5 separate regions of the Homo sapiens genome follow, and all the other regions are linked to region 2. The links are contacts of gene promoters, found by promoter capture Hi-C in blood cells and fetal thymus (Javierre and others, 2016). All regions are on one chromosome and are shown on one strand. Each heading gives the region's core, a stretch centred on a gene start or on the middle of the fragment in contact. The rest is flanking DNA. Distances are from core to core; before and after follow the strand shown. Region 1 overlaps CAMKMT (calmodulin-lysine N-methyltransferase). Region 2 holds the start of SIX3 (SIX homeobox 3). Region 3 overlaps CAMKMT (calmodulin-lysine N-methyltransferase). Region 4 overlaps CAMKMT (calmodulin-lysine N-methyltransferase). Region 5 overlaps CAMKMT (calmodulin-lysine N-methyltransferase).

Region 1 (2,700 bases), core at 87-2,586, 450 kb after region 2:
CAAAAGCAACCCAATAGAAGGAGAATAAAACTTTTAGCTGGTCCTGTTCACTGGTGGCTTTCTTTGTGGGCTCATAATGTGGAACAAGAAAGGTACACACCACTGCTGGAACTACACTGTGACAGCTGCTAAAGAATGGAGCTGACTAGAGATTTCAGGCTGGGTCCAAATCTGCCTTGCTCATGCAACTTGCCAACAACCAGTAGTAAGAATTGCTTCCAATTGACATCCTTGGCCTACAATAAAGGGCAGTATTAACATTAACACTACAAAAGCTTTTAGAAACCCAAAGTTAGATTACCAGAATTGTGATGACATTTTTAACAATATATTTTCATGATTTTTTTCACATATTACAAAACTGCAATGAATTTTCTTTTTAATTTTAAAACTTCTAGTCAGTCCTCAAAATAAATATCAATTCTTGGCTGTGCACGGTGGCTCACATCTTTAATTCCAGCACTTTGGTAGACCAAGGCAGGAGGATTGCTTGAGGCCAGGAGTTCAAGACCAGCCTGGGCACCATAGCAAGATCCTGACCGCTACCAAAAAAATTTAAAAAATTAGCTGGGCAGGTGGCATGCACCTGTAGTCCAGGCTACTCAGGAGGCGTAGGCAGGAGGATTGCTTAAGCTTAGGAGTTCAAGGCTGCAGTGACCTATGATCACACTACTACCATTCTAGCCTGGGTGACAGAGCAAGAACCTGGCTAAAAATAAAAATCAATTATTTTTAGAAAGATTGCAGAGGCATTTATTTCTTTAAAAAAGTAGTGAGATTATTCTCAAACCTAAATATACTGCTTATTTTATTACATGGATGTGGACATAATTAGGGTCTATCCATCATCACTCTACATCTCACGTTCATTCAACAGATACTTCCTGAGCAACTACTGTGTGAGATGGATGAAAAAACTAAGCCAAATAAGATACAGTACCTGCCTTGAAAGAGCTCACAGACTAGTGAGGATGTGCTAAGCACAGTGCTCTGATTACTTGAGCTTCACAGAGTGGCAGGCACCTAACCCAACAAGGGCAGGAGGTGAGAGGTCAGAGAAAGCTTCCTGGGGATGTTTTTAAATTTTCTAATTTACTAATAATAATTCTATCTAAACCTTATCTGTCATAATGGAGTCTCTCTTTCCTATACTAATTGGTAGGTTTTAACTAACTCTAACCTGTGTTCTTTAAAAGAATCCATGTTCTCTTGGTACAATTTAAGATCCTAAAGAAAAAGGGCTTTAAAAATACTTTCTCATTAATTTAAAAACAATCCAACACTTTGAATTGCATGTTAGCACTGAAAATGTTTCCATTTTTATGTCCTAGTGTTTTATGTTATTAACATTTCACATTCTGCATGACCATTATCCCTTAGCAACAGTTTTAAAATTTGGATCAAATTCTAGAGAATGAGAGTATCTCATTTTTGTACGTAAACAGAGGGAAGAGGGGGGAAAAAAAGTGAGGTGGTCTCTCTCTTTTGCCCACCTCAAACATAAAAGAAATATATTAAAATACCACTCACAAAATCTCAAGAGGACACAATTCAAAGGATAATAATAAATGCAAGTCAACAAGAGTTGACATTTCCATCACCTAAGCTTGTTGTATACAGTACCTCCCGTTCATGTCTACTGACATCCAAGAGTAAACCCTAAGGGAGTTGTTTTGAGCGAGGGTTTCTGTATGTCTCTTTGAATAGGAATACAAAGTGACAGAAAAATAACTCAAAATTGCTATAAAATGAATGGTATTTCCAAATGCACAGGCAAACAACATGCACTTTAATGTAACACATTTCTTCTTATTTGGCAGTAAGTTAAAACATATGTTGTTTGAAGTTTATATAAAATGGATGAAAAGGTGTTATTTGTGTTAAAAATGAAACCAAATTACTAAGTGGTTTAAAATCCATGGCTTTTATTATCCAAATGTAGCCAGTTAAAAGTAATGTCACTTGAAGAGTAAAAATAAATTAGGGTTAACAGTTACTGGTTTGCTTATTTTTTTGATGAAGGAAATAAACAAAGTAAAACCCTTCAAAAATATGCACTTAGTCATTACAATTTCGTAATTTTCTTTAACACAATTCCAAAAAACAAACAACAAAGAAATTTTGTTACCCCTTAAAATCAAGTACAAATATTTTTTCCAAGGCTTTTTCTTCTATAAATTACCAAAGAAGGAGCTCTCAAAGTTTAGTCACACTTCAAAAAGGAAAAGTCAATGGCAACAGGCAAAAATCAGGTGGTCAAAAATGTCTTTATCAACTTGCCCTGGGAAAAACACATCTCATGAAGAAGAATAAAAACAAAAAGCAAAATCATTATTATCAAATAATTTTTTAAACCATCAATAGTTTGATTAGCACTTTATAAAACAAATAAAAACAACAGTACATCCTCTGGGGTTGTTTAGACTTGAGAGAGACAGAGAAAGACAGAATGATTTCTAACGGGCTGCAGGAGTAGAAGTCCAGAACTAAAACTTAAAAACAAAAAGTTTTGCTACTTTGTTTTCAAATATACAGTATATAGGCAGATATTTGTTTCTGAGGCCTCAGGTACCTGGCACAGGTGACTTTAGTTCTAAAGTCATAACTTTTTTAGGATTCAAAGTAAATTCATGTTTTTTTCCTGTTGACCAGTGCTTAATAGAGCAAAATATTAAGGCCAGGTGCAGTGGCTCATGCCTG
Region 2 (2,700 bases), core at 162-2,661:
CCTCTTGGTCAAAGCAATCAATACACCCACAGCCAGCCCGGCCCCCTCTTCCGCGCGTCCCGGACAAGCGGAAACTTTCTCCGACTGGCCAGGAGTCACGGCTTCCCTGGCTCTCAGCGGCCGCTCCGCTAGCCCCATCTCAACCCCTCTCCCCTTCCCAGGCCTCTGAGGCTGTAGCCAGGCCGCGGGCCCCGCCACTAACCTGTTCTTGGCCGCCGCGGCGCGGTCGCGCTGCCGCCGGTTCTTAAACCAGTTGCCTACTTGTGTGGGAGTGAGGCCGGTGGCCTGCGCCAGTTCGCGTTTCTTGCTGGGGTTGGGGTAGGGGTCCTGTAGGTACCACTCCCGCAACAGGCTCCGAGTCCGCTCCTTGAAGCAATGCGTCTTCTGCTCGCCGTCCCAGATGGTGCGTGGCAGCGGGAACTTCTTGCGCACGCGGTACTTGTCCACCGGGCCGAGTGGGCGGCCGCGCAGCTTCTCGGCCTCCTGGTAGTGCGCCTCGAGCCACATGGCCTGCAGCTTGCCGTGAGACTCCTTGGTGAACTTGTGGTTCTCAAGGATGTGGTAGAGGTCGCGGAAGTTGCCCGTGTGGAAGGCGACCACGGCGCGCGCGCGCAGGATCGACTCGTGTTTGTTGATGGCCTCGCACGCCCCGGGGGCCACGGGCAGCGACCAGAGGAAGCGGCCCAGCCGCTCGATGTCGCCCGTCTCCTCCAGCGTCTCACAGACGCTGGCCACCTGCTCCGGCGAGAAGTTGAGGGTGGGCAGCTGGAACATGGACAACTCTTCCGGGGGGGCCCTGGAGCCGCCGCCGCCGCCGCCGCCTGCTCCGCCAGCACCGCCGCCTCCCGCACCGTTCCCGCCGCCGCTGCCGCCTCCCGCGCCGCCGCCGCCTCCCGCACCGTTCCCGCCGCCGCTACTCGCCAGAAGTATGGAGCGGTGGTGAGAATCGGCGAAGTTTGGCAACAAGAAGTGGGAGGAATAGAGGTCTAGGGGGGAGCGGAATACCATGGACTGACCTGAGAGGAGAGGAGAAAATTCAGGGAGAGGAAGAGAGAGGGGAGGAAGAGGAGGAGAGGGGCGATGAGGACCAGGAGGAGGGAGAGGAGAGGGGGGAGGAGGAGAAGGAAAGGAGGGGGGAGCAGGAGGAGGAGGGAGAGGAGGAAGGGCGTAAGGGACACCCACACCCCACACACATCCACACACACACACACCCGCGCAGCCACATAGAGAGGGAGGTAGGAGAGCGGCCCGGTGCGCGCGCGCAGAGAGAGAACCCGAGACAGAGAGGGAGAGGGAGAGGGAGAGAGGAGAGGGAGAGCCAACCACCGCCGAGTCAAGATTCAGCGATTCCACCGCAATCGCCCTAATGACAACAGCCTCATAATATCTCCCCTAAATCCACAGTGAGTGCAGCATTGAAACATTTTGTTTCGCTTTTCTATTGGTCTGTGGCGTGTCGTTGTGGCGTTGCCACGGCAACCACTGCCAATCACTGTCAGCCCTGCCAATCAATACCGAGAACGTAAGGACGGTTTTACCACTTAGCCAGAGGGCGGGGGGAGGGGGAGAGCAGGGAAGGAGGGAGAAGTGGGGGGATAAAGAGAATTTTTTTTATCTTTGCAACTCTTAATCTCGCTACCTCCCCCTCCTCTCTTCTCTCTTCTCCCTCTCTCTCCTCTTTTCTCTACCGCTGTCTCTGAGACTTCTTCTTCCCTTTTTCCTAAAGAAGTTGATCCAGAAATTCGAAAAGCCCTGGGCAGAGTTGTTGAATGGGATGTGCAATTAGAGAGGGGATTTTGTTGGGAGGCAAGAGGGTCCCCCAGGCTCCACATAGTCCAGGTCGGCAGGCAAGGAAAGACGGCTGACCAGCCCAGCGGGCGCGGTTTGCACATGGTTTGCACGTCGGGCCGCCTCTTTCTGCCTATGTGAGCACTAATAGTGGCAAGGAAGAAAGGAGAGATGAGATCATGGGGCCCACCAAGCACCGACCTTGGCCCAGCGGGCCGTGGCGCCAGCCGGGGATCCCGGATTCCGAGGGTATCTGGCGCCAGGGAGCCTGAGCCCAATTCCCAGGGTGCTGGAGGCCGCTCTTGCCTCCCCCATCGGTGCCCATGGACCGCATTCACCTCAACTCCCTCTTCATCAATTAGGCTTCTCTTTACTCCCTCCCCGGCCAAGGAGCCTCGATTTCCCCCACCACCCTGTATTTTAAAATAACAGTCCAAACAGTACACTTCTTTCCATCTTAAGAAGCAACTCAACTCTTTGTTTCTTCCCAGAATTCAGCTGCCTCTCTGAGGAGTGGTGGAGGAGCTGCGGGAGCCGAGAAGCCCAAGAGCCCTCTGGACCCAGAAAAGTCCTACAGATGCCCACTCCTCACCACACAACAGAAGGAGCTCTGGTCCTGCCTGCCAGCCCCAGAGGGCACTCAAACTTTGGAGGCCAGCCACCCGGATGAAGTGAATAAGGCCTGAAAATTGCTTGTTTGCTCGTATTGTAAAATAATAATAATTACCATTATTATTTTTAAACTGTCTAATTTCTCTAGGGAAAGTAACATCGAAAGCCTAAAACAGACGCCAAAAGGCCCATAGAACACAGAGGGCCCTCTCTGCCTCTGGCCACCACAGCCCCTAGGCCAGGCATGGGTATTTATTCTTAGGTATGTTGCTTTTAAGAAGCTGTAATCAGCATCTTGAG
Region 3 (2,700 bases), core at 105-2,604, 490 kb after region 2:
TGCTCAGACCTCAAAGTTCAAAGGGCAAGCAGAAAGAAAAATGTAGTCACATAACACAGAAAGCATCCACTGGAATCGCTGGTGACTTCTTTCATCCTGCCCATCTTCAGAGATAAGCCTCCTTCTAAAAAAAATCTATCTCTAGGCTTCGTCCTGGAATCCCCAGTCCTACTTTCACGTTTCACAGTTTCCTCCTCACAAATAACCAAATGCGACTAATTATTTTGTTAACCCAGTATGTGGGTACCATGAATTTCTTCTCAAGTTATTCTGAGATCAAGAAAGTTAAAATACCTTTCAAGTGCTTATCTTAGCATCTCATGATGCCATAGAGAAGCAGGGCTAATGTGATGATGCCCTTCTGCCTCATACAACGTCCTCTATCCATGGGTAAATTAAGATTTCAAGAGGGTCACTTCACAACAAAATCAAGAGTTCAAAGACCAGGCTACAAACTGATGGTACTGTTGCTAGAAGTAAGCTGGATTCTGTTAGATAAATAATATCCTCTCTAGGTTTAAATAAAATGTTTATAGATGTGTACCAATTCTTTCATGTCAAGAAATTCTTTTGATTCACTGATACAATACAATTCTAAAGAGTACAGTAGTGACCTAACATGAAAGCCTCTCCAAAAATGCTTGACTTCTACACAGATTCATTGCTATATTAGGTTTGGGGCCATTATGCCGTCCAAGAGATAAGTAAAATAGAGAAACAGATCAGAAATGGAAAAAAAATCTACTGACTATTAAAAATGATTTGTTTTATTATCCTACTTCAAGGCATAGTTACTAAGCAAAGCTAACTTTTAAGTTCCCAGTGCCTTGGGAACCCAGAGGAGGTGCCCTGGAAGCATGAAGGGGTAATGAAGACCCATGAACAAAGCTTTCTGGCAATGCATTTAGAGGGGGATTTCTGACAATTTTAAAATTTTCACCACTGCTATATATTTAGTTTATTTTACTGGTAGGGTCAGAAACATTATTGGATATTGGGTAAAGTACTCAGTTTACTTACTTTGTTCACCCAGATTTCGTTGAGTAATGTATTTTTCAAGCCACATTTAACACAATGCACAACGTTGAACCTGAAGTCTCTATTTTAAAAGCTCTGGCAATTAGCTCAACTTAGAAAAAATAGCAATTAGAATTCTCAAACAATTTCTGCTGTAAACAGAAGAGAATGAAATAACTCACTCTGACTTACCCTATTATTTTTCATAGTATGAGTTAAAAATATATGTTTTATTTAAGAATTGCAGACGAAGCTTCTCCAACTTATTTTTTAAGAGTTGTCAAAATCAGATGTTACCGTCTCCTTATTCTTAGTAAAAGAATTTCTCTAAAATATAGTCAGGCAGACATTTTCCTTCTCTCTCTCAATGGTATTTTGTCTAATTCTTACTTCCATTAAGACAACACTGCCTCAAGCTTTATATCCATTTCCAAAGACTATCTTATTTCTTAAAACTACTTGTTTTAAACTCTGAAAGACTAAAAAGCAGCATAGAAAAACACCTCTTAATCTTATAGTCGTTTTATTAGACTATTTCACCCATGGCAGGAAAGAAAAATGAGAAATTTCATTTTAAACCTAGGTTCTAGAAATGATGTTTCAGTAATTCATTAAAGTATTCATTAAAAGCTGATTACATATTCTTAACAGTAACATCTGCCCCTCTCCACAAAATGGACAATAAAATTATCTTTTAATAAAAATGTTTGCGCTATAAACTACATGATACAAATTTGCTTAAACCAAACTGAATCCATTCTCTATACTAAAGATGACAAAAATTATCCCACTAGCTGAATTTCATTGCCAAGCTGTCAACTTGAATTTCTTCTGTTTAAAAATAGCTGTTCATTACATTCAGTAATGGGCTGTCAAAGCACTACAGCACTGAACCTGTATCATACACAGAAGCAATTGGGCAATGTGCATTATTATGTTTAGATTACTTGCATTCTTTACAAGACCCCTGGGCTAATTTTAAATGAGATGGTTCACTTGAACTAAATCAAAACCTATTTTATTTTACCTTAGAGCTAATAGATATTTTCCATTTATGACTCACTAGTACAAACATTAATAGCAGGTAAAACAAAAACCTTATTGAACATATATGTGAGTATAAGTAAATATGCACATATGTATGTTTATGGATTTGTATGTGGTTTTGCTCCCTACAGCCACATCTACTTTTAATAATAGATGATTGAATTACAACACAAGGCACACCAAATTAGACAATAGTGCCAATATGTGAGCAAGCATTGTCGTCTCCATGAATACATGATAAGTTGTTAACTGGAAGCATCACTCCTGCAGCATATAGTCTTTGATATTTTAGCATAGTAAATCAATTAGACATCTTTTAAACTAGCAAATGTATAATAATTCACCATATAATTTAGCATGGGATATTGTGAACAACTATAAAAAGACACATAAAACCTGCAGCCGAACCATTCTTCCCCAGCATGATATCACAACCCCAAAGGCATCCAATAATGGCTGCAGGATATCAAAGGGATGGTAACTAAACTGATCACAGATGACTTGTAAATATACCTAATGAATGCAAGAACTAGGTTAATCATTTGTAAAATTTTTTCACTAGTCTTTATTTTCATTAATAAAGAGAGGCTACTTGCACACTCATGTAAATACAGATTATAATACAAAGGTTAAAGA
Region 4 (2,700 bases), core at 196-2,695, 510 kb after region 2:
AGTTAACATGTTAAAATTTAAGGCAACTTTGTTATGTTAGTCTAAGTGAAGACTTAGCTCTGCCTCTATCTGAAGTATCAAACAAAGTTTCAGAGAGCCATAAAATAATATGCATCAATTCATCATCATCTGCTGAGTCAAACATTGGAAAATAATGTCAAGAAGTTACCCTGTAATTACTTCGTGGCTCCTTGAAAACCCATTTGACATAATCACTCTTTGACAGCTGCAAGAGGGAAAATGTTCTATTTCTTCTCCCACCAGTATTCTCTTCTGAGACCCAGGGGCATTGCTTTTCAGCACTTCCTGATCTGCCAAATGTTTATGAAGGAAGTATGTGGGGTGCCTTCGTAATCAGTGCTCCCAAGGCTGGTCAGGGGTTGAGAGTTTCCAATCAAAGCTGTGGATTCAGGAGAGTCACAGGAGAGTCAGGGGATGGGCAATGGGCTTATTATTACCCGTGTGCAGGGAGGAAAATTACTCAAGTACAGGAGTATCTGGTTTTATCTAAAAGACCACTGGAACATTTCTCTCCCTTTTGTCTATGACATTACATTCATTTACAAAGGAAACCCTCAGTAACCACTACATTATAATATTTTAAACATTCTTATTTCTCTGTATGTGGGGCAAGAGTTATTTTAAGATGCGACTAAACCAGCCAAGAAGTTAAATCATCCTGGCCTTGCTGTCAAGAAAGCCTGTAATTTCCATCCAAGATTTTTGGACCCAGGACCACAGTTGGGTTTTCTGCCTATACCTGAGCTGGTAGGAGCTGAACAAAGCTTGCTCTGAAAGTGAAGCACAGCCTTTTTAACAGCTCATTTCCAGGAAGTAAATTGGGTACTTGATTTCTTCTCTGAACACTTACAATTGAGCTAACATCTTAGACTAGTTCCCCATTTCCCAATGGGAGTGTTTTCTAGTTGTCTATTACCACTTGGTTTTCATCAGGGGCATCCACCAGAAGAAAGGCCTAACCCGACAGCACAAGATGATAAGCCTAAAACCCCAGTATCTCAACAATAGAATGTGAGAGGAGCCTAGAAAAAAATTTCTGCAAAACAATCCTATTGTGGGAAACTGAAGCTTCATATTGCACTGGGAATACCTAGGTTCTTATCACAGATTTTTCATTTTTTCCATCAGAAGAGATATGAGTTAGGCCTGTGACACAGCAAGATTTAGAAAGTCTATTGCACTAATGAAAATGTCACTGATGTTACCTCTACAGTAAAAAAGGGAAAAATAAAGACCAGGGAAAGAAGAAAGCAACAAAGGAACTAACCAGTTAGCACTATAATAAATGGCAGCTTCTGGAGGCCATTTTATCCCATTGACAGTAACAAAAAGGGAAAAAAGTCATTTATACAATTTGGTACTTAAAATTGAATTGGGAAGTGCTAATAATATTTTCTCAATTTTCCTAAGTTTCTGAGTTATTCCTCAGAAGTTAATACAAAGTTAATTTACCCCACTTCTCAAATTAAGATTAAAACTTGAAAGGGGAAAAAAAAGTATCAGTTTACCAAAAAATGTTATTTATAATATCTTCAGGTAGAAAAAATATATATACTTACTTCAGAGGGAAAATATCTCTCATTAAAAAGAATAGGTTAATTGTGCTGACCTAATTTAAATCAATATTATTCTCACTTTTATCCTGAATCAATGCCACCTGCATATTTGTAAGAGAATTATGTATGATTACAAAATAAATTGAGTATTTCATAACTGAAATTTTAAAGTAACTTTTTAATAACGTGCTACAAAAATGATAATCTCACTTATTAAAGCTTTGTTTACAGTGTTGATAGCTCTTATAGTACTTTTGCAAATCTTTACTAATTTAACATTACAACTTCCTATCTTTTCCTAATCTCATGTAATTTACCCTACTTAATTCCTTGCTTCTGGATATGCTACATTTGCCACCCAATGAGTTTATTTCACTGGTCATTTACTTTTAACAGTAAAGCCAAACTATTTGAAAGAAATAATCTCCCAACAAATCCAACACAGGAAAAAAAGACTCTTATTTATCCAGCATTTTGTGCCATGAATTGAAGTTTTATTGCAAAGAGTAAGCAATAAACAAAAACACCTCGGGGGCCTGGGAGGAGCAATGTAACCAATTACATTTAATTAAATCAAAGGATGGGAGCCCCAGGGTTGAATGAGCTGAAGAACAAATTTGCATTAACACCTAGCAGCCAAACAAGTAGCTCTGGGTCTAGTATGCAAGTCCAATTGTTACCATCTATTCTCTGCACTGAAGGGGGGCCATTAGCTAAATTCTTAGGCATTGTTTGTCCACTGATGAGAGGCTGCCTTCTCAACATTTCACTTCATCACACATGAAAATTGCCTACTAAAATAAACAGCTTCCTCTGAAAGCTCAGAAACAAACATTATTACCTGACTCCAGTTTGCAATTTGGTGAAAACTCTTCAGGGCTGCTAAAGGAGACAAAAAGAAAATGAAAGGTGTGATTCCAGGCCCTAACTTTACAGTTGATGGAGATCATATGTTTGGGCAGATTCTTTTGAAACATCAGAGACTACAAGGCAGGTTATTCTTTAGCTTCCACCAAGAGTACCACTGTTTTACATGGAATACTTTGACTTAATGCAGCACCATGAGAATCTCAAACATTCATAGCCGAAAGCCCATTGAAAGTATCAAGAAGTCATAATTTCC
Region 5 (2,700 bases), core at 80-2,579, 430 kb after region 2:
ATACTCTTCAAGTTAAAATAAGAAGCACCACTCCCTGTTGAGATAGTGACAGAGGTATTAGAGAGTTCTGTGCAAAAAGGAAACCATCTTTTTGACTTTGGTTTTTGTTCCTTCAGAATAAAATCCCATACTCACAACAGCACACCCCTTGAAAATTAGGAGAGTCTGCTGAACAATTTAGCAATGAAAAATTATTGCTGTATTTTACCTAACATATTGCATTAATTCTTAAGTTGCTCATAAAACATATTAATCAAAATTGAAGACTTCTTTCTAGACACAGATTGTTTCCAGACACAGTGTATCTTCTCTGATACATTTTTGCGTTGTCTTCATTCAAAAAAAAATTTTTGAAACAATTATTTTTGGTCACTTTAACAAATGCTTTTAGCTATTAAAAGAATGTGGTTATAGTTCCTGTTTTTTTAAAAGGAAATATTAATCAGAAATTTCATTAACAAACACTTATGCACATTTATAATATAATAATCATTTAATTCTCAAAATGATGATTCAAGCTCTTCAAAACCACAAGGCCGGGCAGGGTGGCTCATGCCTGTAATCCCAGCACTTTGGGAGGCTGAGACAGGTGGATCATTTGAGGTCAGGAGTTTGAATCCAGCCTGACCAACATGGTGAAACCCCATCTCCACTAAAAGTACAAAAATTAGCTGGGCGTGGTGGCACATGCCTGTAATCCCTGCTACTCGGGAGGCTGAGGCAGGAGAATCGCTTGAAACCAGGAGGCGGGTGTTGCAATGAGCTGAGATTGTGCCATTGTACTCCAACCTGGGTGACAGAGTGAGACTCCGTCTCAAAAAAAAAAAAAAAAAAAATCTCAAGAAACATCCTTAATTAGAAAGATTAAACTATATTTAAAATAATCTTATGTTTTTAAGTATTTTAAAAATAGCATATATAATACTTTTATTGAAAGGCCATATAATTAAAATTAAACATACAGAGCTTTTCTAAATATTCAAGGGTAATGAGTTAATAGTATATCTCTTTATAGCTATCCCAAATAGAATTATTTTGATATTTAGAGAGGCAATCCTAAATATATTTAGAGAGGGACAAAATTTTTTAACATTTGGGAAAAAAAAGAAGCTTCCCTTAGTTATATTCACTAGGCAGTAAAGACAAACCTCTCTTTCATCCATGTCCTCTGTCCCCTGAATCACACTATCTGGCTAAGACTCAAGCCCAGATCAAAAGAAACCAACAAAAATTAAACTAGAAAATGCATGCTAAAAATAATTTAACTGCATGGCTTCCCCCTGGCCTAACACTGTGGCATTTACTTCATTAAGTGTTTCTAAAAAACTCGCAGTGGGAAAGGTACTTAATTTATTTACTGCATGAGTCTAACGTGAACTGTGAAAGAAATTTTAAGTAAACGGGCATGGTTTGGAACAGGATTACTGGAACATTTGGTGTTTCATATGAGGCGCTCTTTTTTGCCCATCAGCACCCCTGGTACATTTCACCGTAAGCAATGAAATAATTTTGTTTGGCTTCTAGTACATATTTCCTGACAGAAGCTTGGTAATAATGAGAAGTTCTCAAAAAATAAAAATAAAAATAAAATGCAAAGAAAATTGCTTCTCCGTGACTCTCATTCTTTAGACTTGTTCTTTCTCATAAATAGATGCAACTGCTTGTGCTCTCCCCATTTGATGTATCCCAGCAATGTCTTAGACTAAAAATAGGTAAAGGGCCTAAAAACTAAGTAGCCACAGACTAAAGCTGGCATCTTTACTTTCTGCTTTCTCAGAGGAGTTGGACAAAGAAGAAGACAGAGCTAACAACCCCTAACTTGTCTTCTCACCTAAGCTTCCATTAGTTCCTCCCAGCTGTCTACTACAAATTTCAACATGTGCTGTAGCTTTAAACTCAGAATTTCTAAAACCGAAATGATAATCCTTCTTCCCAAACCAGTTTCCCCTCCCAAATCACTGACTCACTCACTGGTGCCATGGTTACTCCCATTTTTCAAGGTCATATCTTTGATTCATGTAACAGAGTAAGTCCTCCAATTTCAGATTTTCCCTAGAAGTAAGATCTCTGTGACTGACAGGTGAATGAATTGCCTATTCCATTGATCATGTAACTCCCCTAATCCCATGTGTTCTAAGATATTCCACAGAGATTATAGATATCCCTTACCAGAGCCTGAAGAGCTACCTTTGCCAGATTGTAAGCATTTTGACTGAGTTTTACAAGTCCCTTTATACCCAAATCCAAAGTTCTACCTAACTCCTCCCAGTCCCACTGAAAAGCCTCTACTAGTGACCAGAGCCACTCTCCCAAAAAGCTTTCAGACACCAAAGCCAGTACTGATCTGGCAGTATATCAAACCCTCCCTTATGGAAATTCAAAACACAAATGAGGCTCCAGTTACTTCTAGGTAAAATCTCTGTAGCTAATATTGTGATGTTAATCCTAAAACCTCTGTCTTTCCCTAGCCACTGGCTTCTCCCACCCCTTAGAGTTAAAACATAGAGATTAAGACACAAAAGTATATCAGGTCAGCTTTATTTGCCTCTTGGCCTGGTAGAAATAAGTGAGTGGTCTACACAGGACTACCCAACTTCTCAGAGGCTATGCAGTTCCCTTTCTCGTAAATATACCAAGTTCTCATCTGTCCCATCCCATAAGTCATAGCAGCCATATCCTATGATTTATGAGTATCCATCA

Evidence for each region. The method cuts DNA at HindIII sites, captures the fragments that hold promoters and counts their contacts. A CHiCAGO score of 5 or more calls a contact.
Region 1: a fragment that was not itself captured here is called in contact with the fragment with the promoter of SIX3 in region 2 in 3 of 17 cell types (total B cells, naive B cells and M1 macrophages); the score reaches 6.9 in total B cells.
Region 3: a fragment that was not itself captured here is called in contact with the fragment with the promoter of SIX3 in region 2 in 1 of 17 cell types (total B cells); the score reaches 5.3 in total B cells.
Region 4: a contact is called between a fragment that was not itself captured here and the fragment with the promoter of SIX3 in region 2, in 1 of 17 cell types (total B cells). The highest score is 5.1, in total B cells.
Region 5: a contact is called between a fragment that was not itself captured here and the fragment with the promoter of SIX3 in region 2, in 1 of 17 cell types (naive B cells). The highest score is 6.5, in naive B cells.

The regions. Positions count from the first base shown.
Region 1 is chr2:44,493,170-44,495,869 of GRCh38, reverse strand. The region is part of intron 3 of CAMKMT (calmodulin-lysine N-methyltransferase); the gene reads right to left. It overlaps LOC124907758 (a long non-coding RNA gene), which reads right to left. Exons shown (of 2, transcript XR_007086302.1): 2 at 1,906-2,296. Among named protein-coding and RNA genes, the nearest start is that of CAMKMT, 130 kb to the right of the region's middle. The HindIII fragment of the contact is 544 bases long and covers 1,065-1,608 here.
Region 2 is chr2:44,940,413-44,943,112 of GRCh38, reverse strand. SIX3 (SIX homeobox 3) reads right to left here and starts at 1,411. Exons shown (of 2, transcript NM_005413.4): 1 at 203-1,411. The coding sequence starts at 1,008. It overlaps SIX3-AS1 (SIX3 antisense RNA 1), which reads left to right and starts at 1,235. Exons shown (of 2, transcript NR_103786.1): 1 at 1,235-1,403; 2 at 2,280-2,700. RefSeq lists enhancers at 1-368, 1,451-1,977. The HindIII fragment of the contact is 26,724 bases long and covers 1-2,700 here.
Region 3 is chr2:44,452,681-44,455,380 of GRCh38, reverse strand. The region is part of intron 3 of CAMKMT (calmodulin-lysine N-methyltransferase); the gene reads right to left. It overlaps LOC124905999 (a long non-coding RNA gene), which reads right to left. Exons shown (of 2, transcript XR_007086303.1): 2 at 1-2,700. Among named protein-coding and RNA genes, the nearest start is that of CAMKMT, 92 kb to the right of the region's middle. The HindIII fragment of the contact is 163 bases long and covers 1,273-1,435 here.
Region 4 is chr2:44,430,040-44,432,739 of GRCh38, reverse strand. The region is part of intron 3 of CAMKMT (calmodulin-lysine N-methyltransferase); the gene reads right to left. Among named protein-coding and RNA genes, the nearest start is that of CAMKMT, 69 kb to the right of the region's middle. The HindIII fragment of the contact is 707 bases long and covers 1,092-1,798 here.
Region 5 is chr2:44,514,876-44,517,575 of GRCh38, reverse strand. The region is part of intron 3 of CAMKMT (calmodulin-lysine N-methyltransferase); the gene reads right to left. Among named protein-coding and RNA genes, the nearest start is that of CAMKMT, 150 kb to the right of the region's middle. The HindIII fragment of the contact is 434 bases long and covers 1,113-1,546 here.